2 separate regions of the Homo sapiens genome follow, and region 2 is linked to region 1. Evidence: promoter capture Hi-C in 16 types of primary human blood cells and fetal thymus (Javierre and others, 2016). All regions are on one chromosome and are shown on one strand. Each heading gives the region's core, a stretch centred on a gene start or on the middle of the fragment in contact. The rest is flanking DNA. Distances are from core to core; before and after follow the strand shown.

Region 1 (4,260 bases), core at 902-3,401:
TTAAATAGAACTTGGTTACCCCTTTCCCACCTCCCTCCCTATAGCTCATGCCTAGAGGGGCCTTGAGCAGGACCAGCAGGGAATCCCACCAAGGCCCTTTCCAGGGGGCCTGCAGCCTACCTGAAACCATTCCTAGAAGGAGAAGGGTAGAAGATGTCAGTGTAAATAAAGGTTGGAGTTTTGATTATAGCCAGTTTCTGACATCGGACTGGATTTTGTGATGAAAAGTGACCACTGGACTGTGTTACCTGAGAGTAAATATAATGTCTTGTGGCCTTGCAGAGTTTCTTTCCATGGCCAGGGGGAGAGCTTCTCCTACCAAATATATTGTAAAGAGGCCATGGGAGATGAAATAAAGTTGGGATTTGCTTACATCCTATGTATTCTGCTTATTCAACATGGCACAGCACACCCATGCCATCCACTAACTGTGCCAAAAGCAGCCTGAAAGCAGAGCCCTGTCTCACAGCAGCATGGACCTGTGGATAGGCTTGGGACATTCTTGCTTGTGCAGGTCAGGATCCAGAGAACATCCAATGCCCTACCTTGGAGAGGGGAAGGGAACAGCCAGGTACACAGGTGCCAGCTTAGGAAGAAGGACAGTCTCCGCTGGCCACCAACCCCCGACCTCCACTGCCACCCTGTGACCCTCTGCCCAGTCAGGTTACACACACTGCCCAGAGGAACTGAGAGAGGCCACTTCGCTTTTCATTCTGAGCCACTTCCCTCATTCCACAGGCTCCTGGGGCATGTCACCTCCATGCCACTGCCATGCTACACCAACCCCACATCACTCCTAGGGAAGCAGGAAGCATCTCACCACAGGGCCCCAACCCATAGTCATGGGCAGCGAGATCCCCTAGCCTAGCCCAGCCCCGAAGGGCCTAGACCCAGACCCCCTCATCCCACCTCCCATCAGGTGGACAAGTCAGCACTAAGGGCTGTCTTCCCTCCCCCACCAAGCCTTCATTTCCCTTCCTGGGACAAGCCCAGCACTCTAACTCTCAGACTGGGCGAGCCCAGCAGCCTCCCCTCCCTGAAGGAGAATCTCCATATTGTTCTCTCCAGCCTAAGAGAATCCCTGGCCTAAGGTAACATTTTCAGGGGCCAGGAGAACCAGAGCCTGGGAGCAGCCCCGTGTAGGAAGGAACAGACACAGCAGAGAGAGGGCTGCAGGGTGCAGCAGTGTCTTCCCCTTCCCTTGCTGACAGGCCTGCATCGGGGAGCAATGCTGAGCCCAGCAAGGGGTAGCAGAAGTCAAATCAGCTCCTTCCCTGGGAGCAGAAGCCTCTAGTTCTCACTTAGGTCCAGGGGCCTTTTGTGGCTGCCCCCACAGCAGCGCAGGGGAGAGCAAGGCTTCCCTGGACAGGATGATGCCCAGTGGAGGGGGTGAAGGAGCTGGGTCTGAGCGCCCTGCCGGAGCAAGGGCAAGACATCTGTGCTGGGAGCGGGGACGAGCTCACCTCTCCTCCTAGCCTGCCTCAGCTCTGGGGTGCACTTTCCTCCTCTTCTCTTGGGGGTTTGAAGGAGAAGAGAAGCAGACCCAAATAAACTACCTCCAGTGACCACCCAGGCAGCTCACCCACTTCTCACACCTAGAACCAAGGCTTAGCCCTTTAGCTGGGGACATACACCCTTAATCCCAGGTTTGTTTATCCAAGCAGTGGTGTCAGCTGCCTGGCCAAACCACACAGGCGCCTGGATCCTAGGAGACATAAACCAATCCTCCCACCCAAGCAAAGCCCCGTAGCAGCCCGGCCCCCACCACCTGGTGCTCCAGCAGCTGAGGCCCCTGCCCCACTTACATCATCCCATTTGATGAAGCGCTCCCCTTGGCTCAGATAGGCCTTCACCTTGGGGGGCAGCAGGACAGGGTTGAGCAGAGACATGGTGCCAAGCGTTCCTCTTTGCAGAATCTCAGCAGACACAGGCAGGCAGAAGGGCAGGAAGGAGGCCAGCCAGGAGGGGGAGCCAAGCTGGGCTCAAATGGCACCCATCCCCGAGCTGCTCCAGAAATCTAGTTGCTCTTATAGCCCCTGGGGTGGCCCTGGCTGAGTGCAGGACTGAGCTGTAGCCAGAGGCCCATCTGCCTTGTAAATCACCCTCCTCCCACCCGCCCTGCCTGCCATGGGGGCCTGTGGTCACTGCTTCTGCCCAAGGAGGCTGAAGCAGGAAGCCCCCGCCTCTTCTGGAGGCCCCCGCCCCCACCCCCAGCCCCACCCTGTGCCTCTCAGCACTTCCTGCTCTGGGCTTCCTTCTCTGCGCTGCTCACAGCGGAGACGTGGTCATGAGGCCGGGTCGCCTTGGAGCCAGGGCCTCTCAGTCCCTGTGGTGGTCTCTGGTCAGATTTGGCCCAGGAGGGCTGGAGAAGGACGACATGGAGACCAGCTGGGGAGACTGCTGCCCAGGCCTGGACTGAGGGAAGGCACAGGGAGCTCACTAGGAGAAAGGACCTCCTCAGGGGAAGGGTCCAGAGCATGGGCATCTGACCCCAAAGGTTGGGAGCACCGTAGAGGCAGGGGTGGGGTGGGGACAGGGCCCAGCTGGAATGGAGTGTTTTGAATAAGCAAAGTTTGCTGAACACACGGCTCCTCTTTCTCAATGCTTCCTCCCCCATGAAAATGAGGTGCACCTGCCGGGCGGGCGGGTGCGGTGGCTCACGCCTGTAATCCTAGCACTTTGGGAGGCCGAGGCGGGCGGATCACGAGGTCAGGAGATCGAGACCATCCTGGCTAACACGGTGAAACCCTGTCTCTACTAAAAATGCAAAAAATTAGCTGGGCGTGGCAGCGGCGCCTGTAGTCCCAGCTACTCGGGAGGCTGAGGCAGGAGAATGGCATGAACCCAGGAGGCGGAGCTTGCAATGAGCCGAGATGGCGCCACTGCACTCCAGCCTGGGCGACAGAGCAAGACTCCATCTCGAAAAAAATAAAAAAAGAAAGAAAATGAGGGGCACATGAGGCAAGGCAATCACTCCCCTCACCCACCTCACCAGACTCCCACCTCTGGGCCTCTGGGACTGCCTGAGGCCTGGACCCCCACTGAGCAGCCCTAGCCCCTGCCTCCACTGCGCTCTCCTCTCTCCTCCGTGTGCCCGCCTCTGCTGTGTACCCCAGCCTGCAGCGGGGCTGGGGCGGAGGGATGGCTGCTCTGGTTGGCCAGGCTCAGCCCCAGCTGCTCAGGTGCCTGACCCACACTCTGCCCCAGGCCCAGGGAGTTCAGCACCAGTCCAGCTCAGCCCAGCCCACTTCCTCTTGCCTAATCTGCTCCTCTTATCGCCCTTCTTAGCCCAGCCTGGGAGGCAGGGAGCTCTACCCAAGACTTCCTTCCCCTCTGGGGCCTGGCCTTTTGCCCTGGGTCACCCCCCCATGGGGCTTTGCATACCCCCAACAACGGTAAGACCCTCACCCAGGCCCTAGAATTGTCGCGGCTGGAGGTCTGGTCCAGGGCAGGGTGGAGGGTGAGGGAGGACACTCTTCATGCGGAATTAAGATAATAAACTGCCCAGTGGAGGCTGGAGCTAAGGGAATTCCCAGCACAGAAATAATCTGCAGAAGAGCAATTCTAGGGCCGGGGGATGGAGCCGGAGCAGGGCCTGACCAAGCCTCTGGAAATGGTAACAATTCAGAGGACTCTTCTTCCTCGTTTCCCCCAGTCCCTTAGCGTCATCTCTCCTCTCTCCCTCCCTCCAGTCTGGGGCCCTTCTGGGGGCCCCTCTGGCAGCCCATGCTGTTCTGGGTTCCTCCCTGGGATCAGGTTCCCTCGATATCTGTTTGAATGGATTTTGCAAGGGAAATCCCTGTCCCTTCCCAAAGCCCCTGCACCTGTCACCTGCGGCTGCCCTGGTCCCGGCACCCAAGTCCCTCCCTTTCATCTGTCCTGTAGCCATCAGCCCCCTCTCCACTTTGGGCCTGGAGAGACCAGTCCATTCCTCCCCCTCAGCCTGAGGAGGAAAGGGACAGCCTCCTCTCCTCATTTCAGGATTTCAGGGCTCCTCACTCTGTTCCTTTCCATCTCCAGCTCCGAATCCACAGAACAAAGCCTTGCCCATCTTTACTCAGTGATGTCACTGCCTGCACTGTTCTTGGGACCACAACTGTAGCTTCAGTGGGGGCCTGTACTCTCCTGCTCACATCCTGACCTCCTGCAAAGCTAGCTCCAAAAATGCAGAAAATCCAGGCAGTCAGGAGAGCGGAAAATCTTCATCAAAGAGCTTTTTGCTTTTAAAAATACATTTAGGTTTGAAAATTTGTGTTGACA
Region 2 (4,260 bases), core at 1,028-3,527, 84 kb before region 1:
GACTTCGAATTGTTACAATAGGGTTGTGATGAGACAGAGTAGCCAACTATTTCTTTAGGTGGGTCTGACCTTCCAATAAGTGGTCTAGACTGAAAAGTAGGTAAGATGATATGCATAAGACCAAATATCCTTCAATTTCAAGTGGCATGATTGTATACATGGCTTATGTTTTAATGTTTTCACTTTTTTGGAGACAGGGTGTCCTCTGTTGCCCAGGCTATAGCCTTGATTTCCCAGGCTCTGGCAATTTTCCCACCTCAGCCTCCCAAGTAGTTGGGAGCACAGGCGCACACCACCACATCTGGCTAATTTTTTGTATTTTTGTAGAGATGGGATTTCGCCACAGTGCCCAGGCTGGTCTCAAACTCCTGGGCTCAAGTGATCTGCCCACCTCGGCTGCCCAAAGTGCTGAGATTACAGGCGTGAGCCACCATGCCCGGCCCTAATGCTTTCACTTTTATCCACCAAGCTCCTTGGTCTATTTATATAATCTAGTGGCACTGCTGCTGGGGTCTTTTGATTAGGAATGTGACTGTTAGAAAGTAAAAGCAAATGTGTTAAACAGGGTTTAGCAACCTTTCAGAAATGGAATAATCACCATTCTATTACATGCAGAATGACTTGGAGGGGGCAAGGGTCAGTGAAGGAATAAAAGGAAATTTTGCTTGAAAGATTTGAGGAAGCAGGAGGTCAGAATAAAACGATAACTTTGAAGTATGAAATAGTTTGGAAGAGAATAGGCCTAGATAAAGTATTGGACTCCCAAAGGGAAGCGTGAATTACACCTGGCCTCAGGGATAGGGAAGAAAATTGGTAGAAAAAGGCAATGAAAATTATCCAACTATCAGCCGGGCACCGTGACTCATGCCTGTAATCCCAGCACTTTGGGAGGCCAAGGAGGGAGATTCATGTGAGACCAGGAGTTTGAGAGCTGCCCGGGCAACAAAGTGAGCCCCATCTCTACAAAAAATAAAAATAAACATAAATTAGTTGGGTGCAGTGGCACTTGCCTATAGTCCTAGCTGCTTGGGAAGCTGAGGCGAAAGGATTGCTTGAGCCTGGGAGTTCAAGGTTTAGTGAGCATGATTGCGCCATTGCACTCTTGCTCCGGGCGACAGAACAAGACTCTGCCTCTAACAAAAAAAGGAAAGAAAATTATCTAATTATCTATTTCATATCTAAATACCAAAATTATCTAATGTTCCTCCTTGCTAGTGCCTTATTTTTTTTTTACTCTAGTTGTCACTGTTACTGCTCTAAGATTGCTGGAAAGCAAAAAATCCTACGTATGTCTCAACTAAAAATATTTAAGCATATATAGTTGAAGCACTGCAACATGACTTGGATCTGAAAGATAATCAACTTAGAAATATTTGCTCTTAACCAAAATACAGCTCTCCAAACATTCTCACATTTGCTTCTTATACTGATGATGTAAAATGATATATCTGTATCTTTTACATAATCAAGCCCCTCTCCTCTCTGCTCTCCTCATTTCTCAGTTCACTGTGTTGACACATGAAGTTATTACTCTGAGACTGGACAGAAAATTTAGATTTATTCTTAATATAGGCTTAGCTACTATGTAGTGAATAGCAACCTTGACAGCAGGCTGCTGTGAAGTAAAGCTTTGTTTCTGGAGTAGGCTGTGAGGAAAGGGAGGGGAATCTGAGGAAACTACTTTGTTAGAGAACTTGCATCTGTTTTGCCACCCCTCCCTTCCATTCCAATCTCTTCCAACCCCAGCCCTTTGTAGAGAGGAGAAAAGTTTACCTGACCATTTAGGACTTACAATTGTCTTAGGTTTTCAGTTTGCCTAAGCATAAAACCACAAAGTGAGATCCTTTACATTTCCCTTATATTTTATGCTTATTTGTCTTGGGAGAAGGAAGCCTTTCCTTTTTGGCAGAAGTTTCAAATGGTTCTTATTTCTTGTCTCACTAAGGCAGTAATAGCATAGTGATGGACCTGGTTGGGTAGTGGGGGACAGCTGAAAAGGCAGGAGTTTTACTTTTGTTTGAAAAGAGACCACATCACATATAGCATCTCACCATTCACAAAGTGTACATCCACCGATACTACTCCACTGTTAGAGCCTTCGTCCTCCTATGGCAGTAGTATAAGAAACCTTCCACCAAGTCAGAGTGCTCTAACTGATGCCAAACCTAAACCTGGAAATAAAGATTTTCCTGGAGCAGTAAGACTTCAGACTGTTGGTTGAGCTATTATCTCAAGGTAGATAAGAAAGCCTTTCAGAAGGTGAGCACAAGGTTCTTTGAAATAACTCATTGGTGTCTTTAAGCTGAAGCCTTTAAGCAAAGACAGCAAAGAAATTGCATCTGAAAATGAGGAATTCTTCCAACTGCACCAGTTCTTTCTAATGTGCCAAAATTAGCTTCTAATTTGGCTCCTAAAATAAAGGTTTCCCTAGTGAGGAGAATGCATTTAAAAAAATTTTTTTTGTAATATGGCAAACTTCTACCTTAACGGGGTCCTTGGTTCTACCAGAGACATAAGAAGCTATGAATATTTAATAGGACAAAGATGGCATTTTAAGTCAGTATGTGAAAAGATTATTTAATAACTGGTGTTAAAACAATGGATTAGGCTGGGTGTGGTGGCTCGCACCTGTAATCCCAACACTTTGGGAGGCTGAGGCGGGTGGATTACCTGAGTCAGGAGTTCGTGACCAGCCTGGCCAACATAGTGAAACCCCGTCTCTTCTAAAAATACAAAATTAGCCATGCGTGGTGGTGCATGCCTATAATCCCAGCTACTTGGGAGGCTGAGGCAGGAGAATCGCTTGAACCCAGGAGGTGGAGGTTGCAGTTAGCCAAGATCATGCCATTGTACTCCAACCTGGGCAACAAGAGTGAAACTCTGTCTCAAAAAAAAAAAAAAAAAGAAAAAACAACCCACAATGGATTAAAGCTTGAACTCTATCTCCATTGACACTACTAGTTCATATAGCACCTTCGTGCAAATTAGAAAAGGCCCCTTCCTTTAGTGGATTCAGTACCTCCCAATGCACCATACCTTGACTGAATTTCAGTCCCCACTTACCCCCTCAGCCTGGTACCCTTGTGCAGCAAATACATTGTGCAGTCTTATGCATTGATCTTGCCTGTTTCACTGCTTATCCCCAAAATAATTTTGGAGAAATCAGAAATTTTAATCAAAATACAATGTAATAGATGGTTTTGCAATCTTTTGCCTGTGTGACATAAAAGCAAGATATAAACCAGAAGATTGCTATTACTATAGTAGATAAAAAATTAAATATAGGATGGATACCTATCCTCCCCTCCAAAAAAATTAAAACCATAAATTCAAACTAGGAACATTTACTGGCAACAAATATTTACATCTTTTTTTGCCTCGACTCAGGGATCTTGCTTTGTCGCCCAGGCTGCAATGCAGTGGTAAGAAGATCAACTCCTGGTTTCAGGCCTCCCAAGTAGCTGGGAGTCTCGGTGCACGCCACCACACCTGGCTAATTTTTTTAATCTTTAGTAGAGACAAAGTCTTGCTGTGTTGTCCAGGCTTGCATCCACTTTCATCTGGTCTCATGACTCTGTTGTTCCTACCCACCTCCAGCCAAATCAGAACCCTCCAAAGACTTTACCATGGCCTATAAGACCCCACCCTATCTGACCCCACTCTCTCTGACCTCCTCCCGGACTCCCCTCTTCCTCACCCACACTGCTGTAGGCGGCCTCCTTGTTGCTTCTCAAATGTGCCAACTAATTTCCCTCTCCCTCTCTTTAAAGCCTTTTGGCTTTTAAGGCCAGTTGTTTTTTGGCCTTGTTTTCCTTGATCTTCATGTAAATTACTCCCTTTCTTCCTTTCAGGTAGGTGTCTTCTCCAATCTCCACTCTATCAGAGAGGCTGTCCCTGACCATTCTGTACACTGCACAGAATAGCATCCCATCCCACACACACTGCTATCACTTTCTATCCCTTTTTACCCTCCTTTATTTTTCTATTGCACCTGTCACCGCCTCGTGCGTGTGTCTGTGTTGTGTGTGTGCGTGTATACATACACTTTTTTTTCTTTATCTCTCTACTAGAATTTAAACTCCTTAAGGGTGGGGATTTTCTTTGTTTCCTGTTTGACTGCACTGTCTAGAACAGTGCCTGAATGAATAAAACTGTTTTACCTAAAGTACAAAAAACTCTTAAAAATAAAAAATTGATAAAAGAAACAAAGGACATGAACAATCCACTAAAACATTTTAATGGCTCATATACATGAGATGT

What was found. Contacts are between HindIII fragments. The CHiCAGO score rates a contact against its expected background, and 5 or more counts as called.
Region 2: a contact is called between a fragment that was not itself captured here and the fragment with the promoter of PLCB2 in region 1, in 2 of 17 cell types (M1 macrophages and M2 macrophages). The highest score is 7.6, in M1 macrophages.

Annotation. Positions count from the first base shown.
Region 1 is chr15:40,305,784-40,310,043 of GRCh38, forward strand. It overlaps PLCB2 (phospholipase C beta 2), which reads right to left and starts at 2,152. Exons shown (of 32, transcript NM_004573.3): 1 at 1,806-2,152. The coding sequence starts at 1,889. LOC112268152 (a long non-coding RNA gene) reads right to left here. Exons shown (of 3, transcript XR_002957721.2): 3 at 4,254-4,260. The HindIII fragment of the contact is 15,701 bases long and covers 1-4,260 here.
Region 2 is chr15:40,221,225-40,225,484 of GRCh38, forward strand. All of the region lies in intron 1 of BUB1B-PAK6 (BUB1B-PAK6 readthrough), which reads left to right. All of the region lies in intron 1 of LOC107984763 (a long non-coding RNA gene), which reads right to left. Among named protein-coding and RNA genes, the nearest start is that of BUB1B-PAK6, 5.9 kb to the left of the region's middle. The HindIII fragment of the contact is 1,303 bases long and covers 1,627-2,929 here.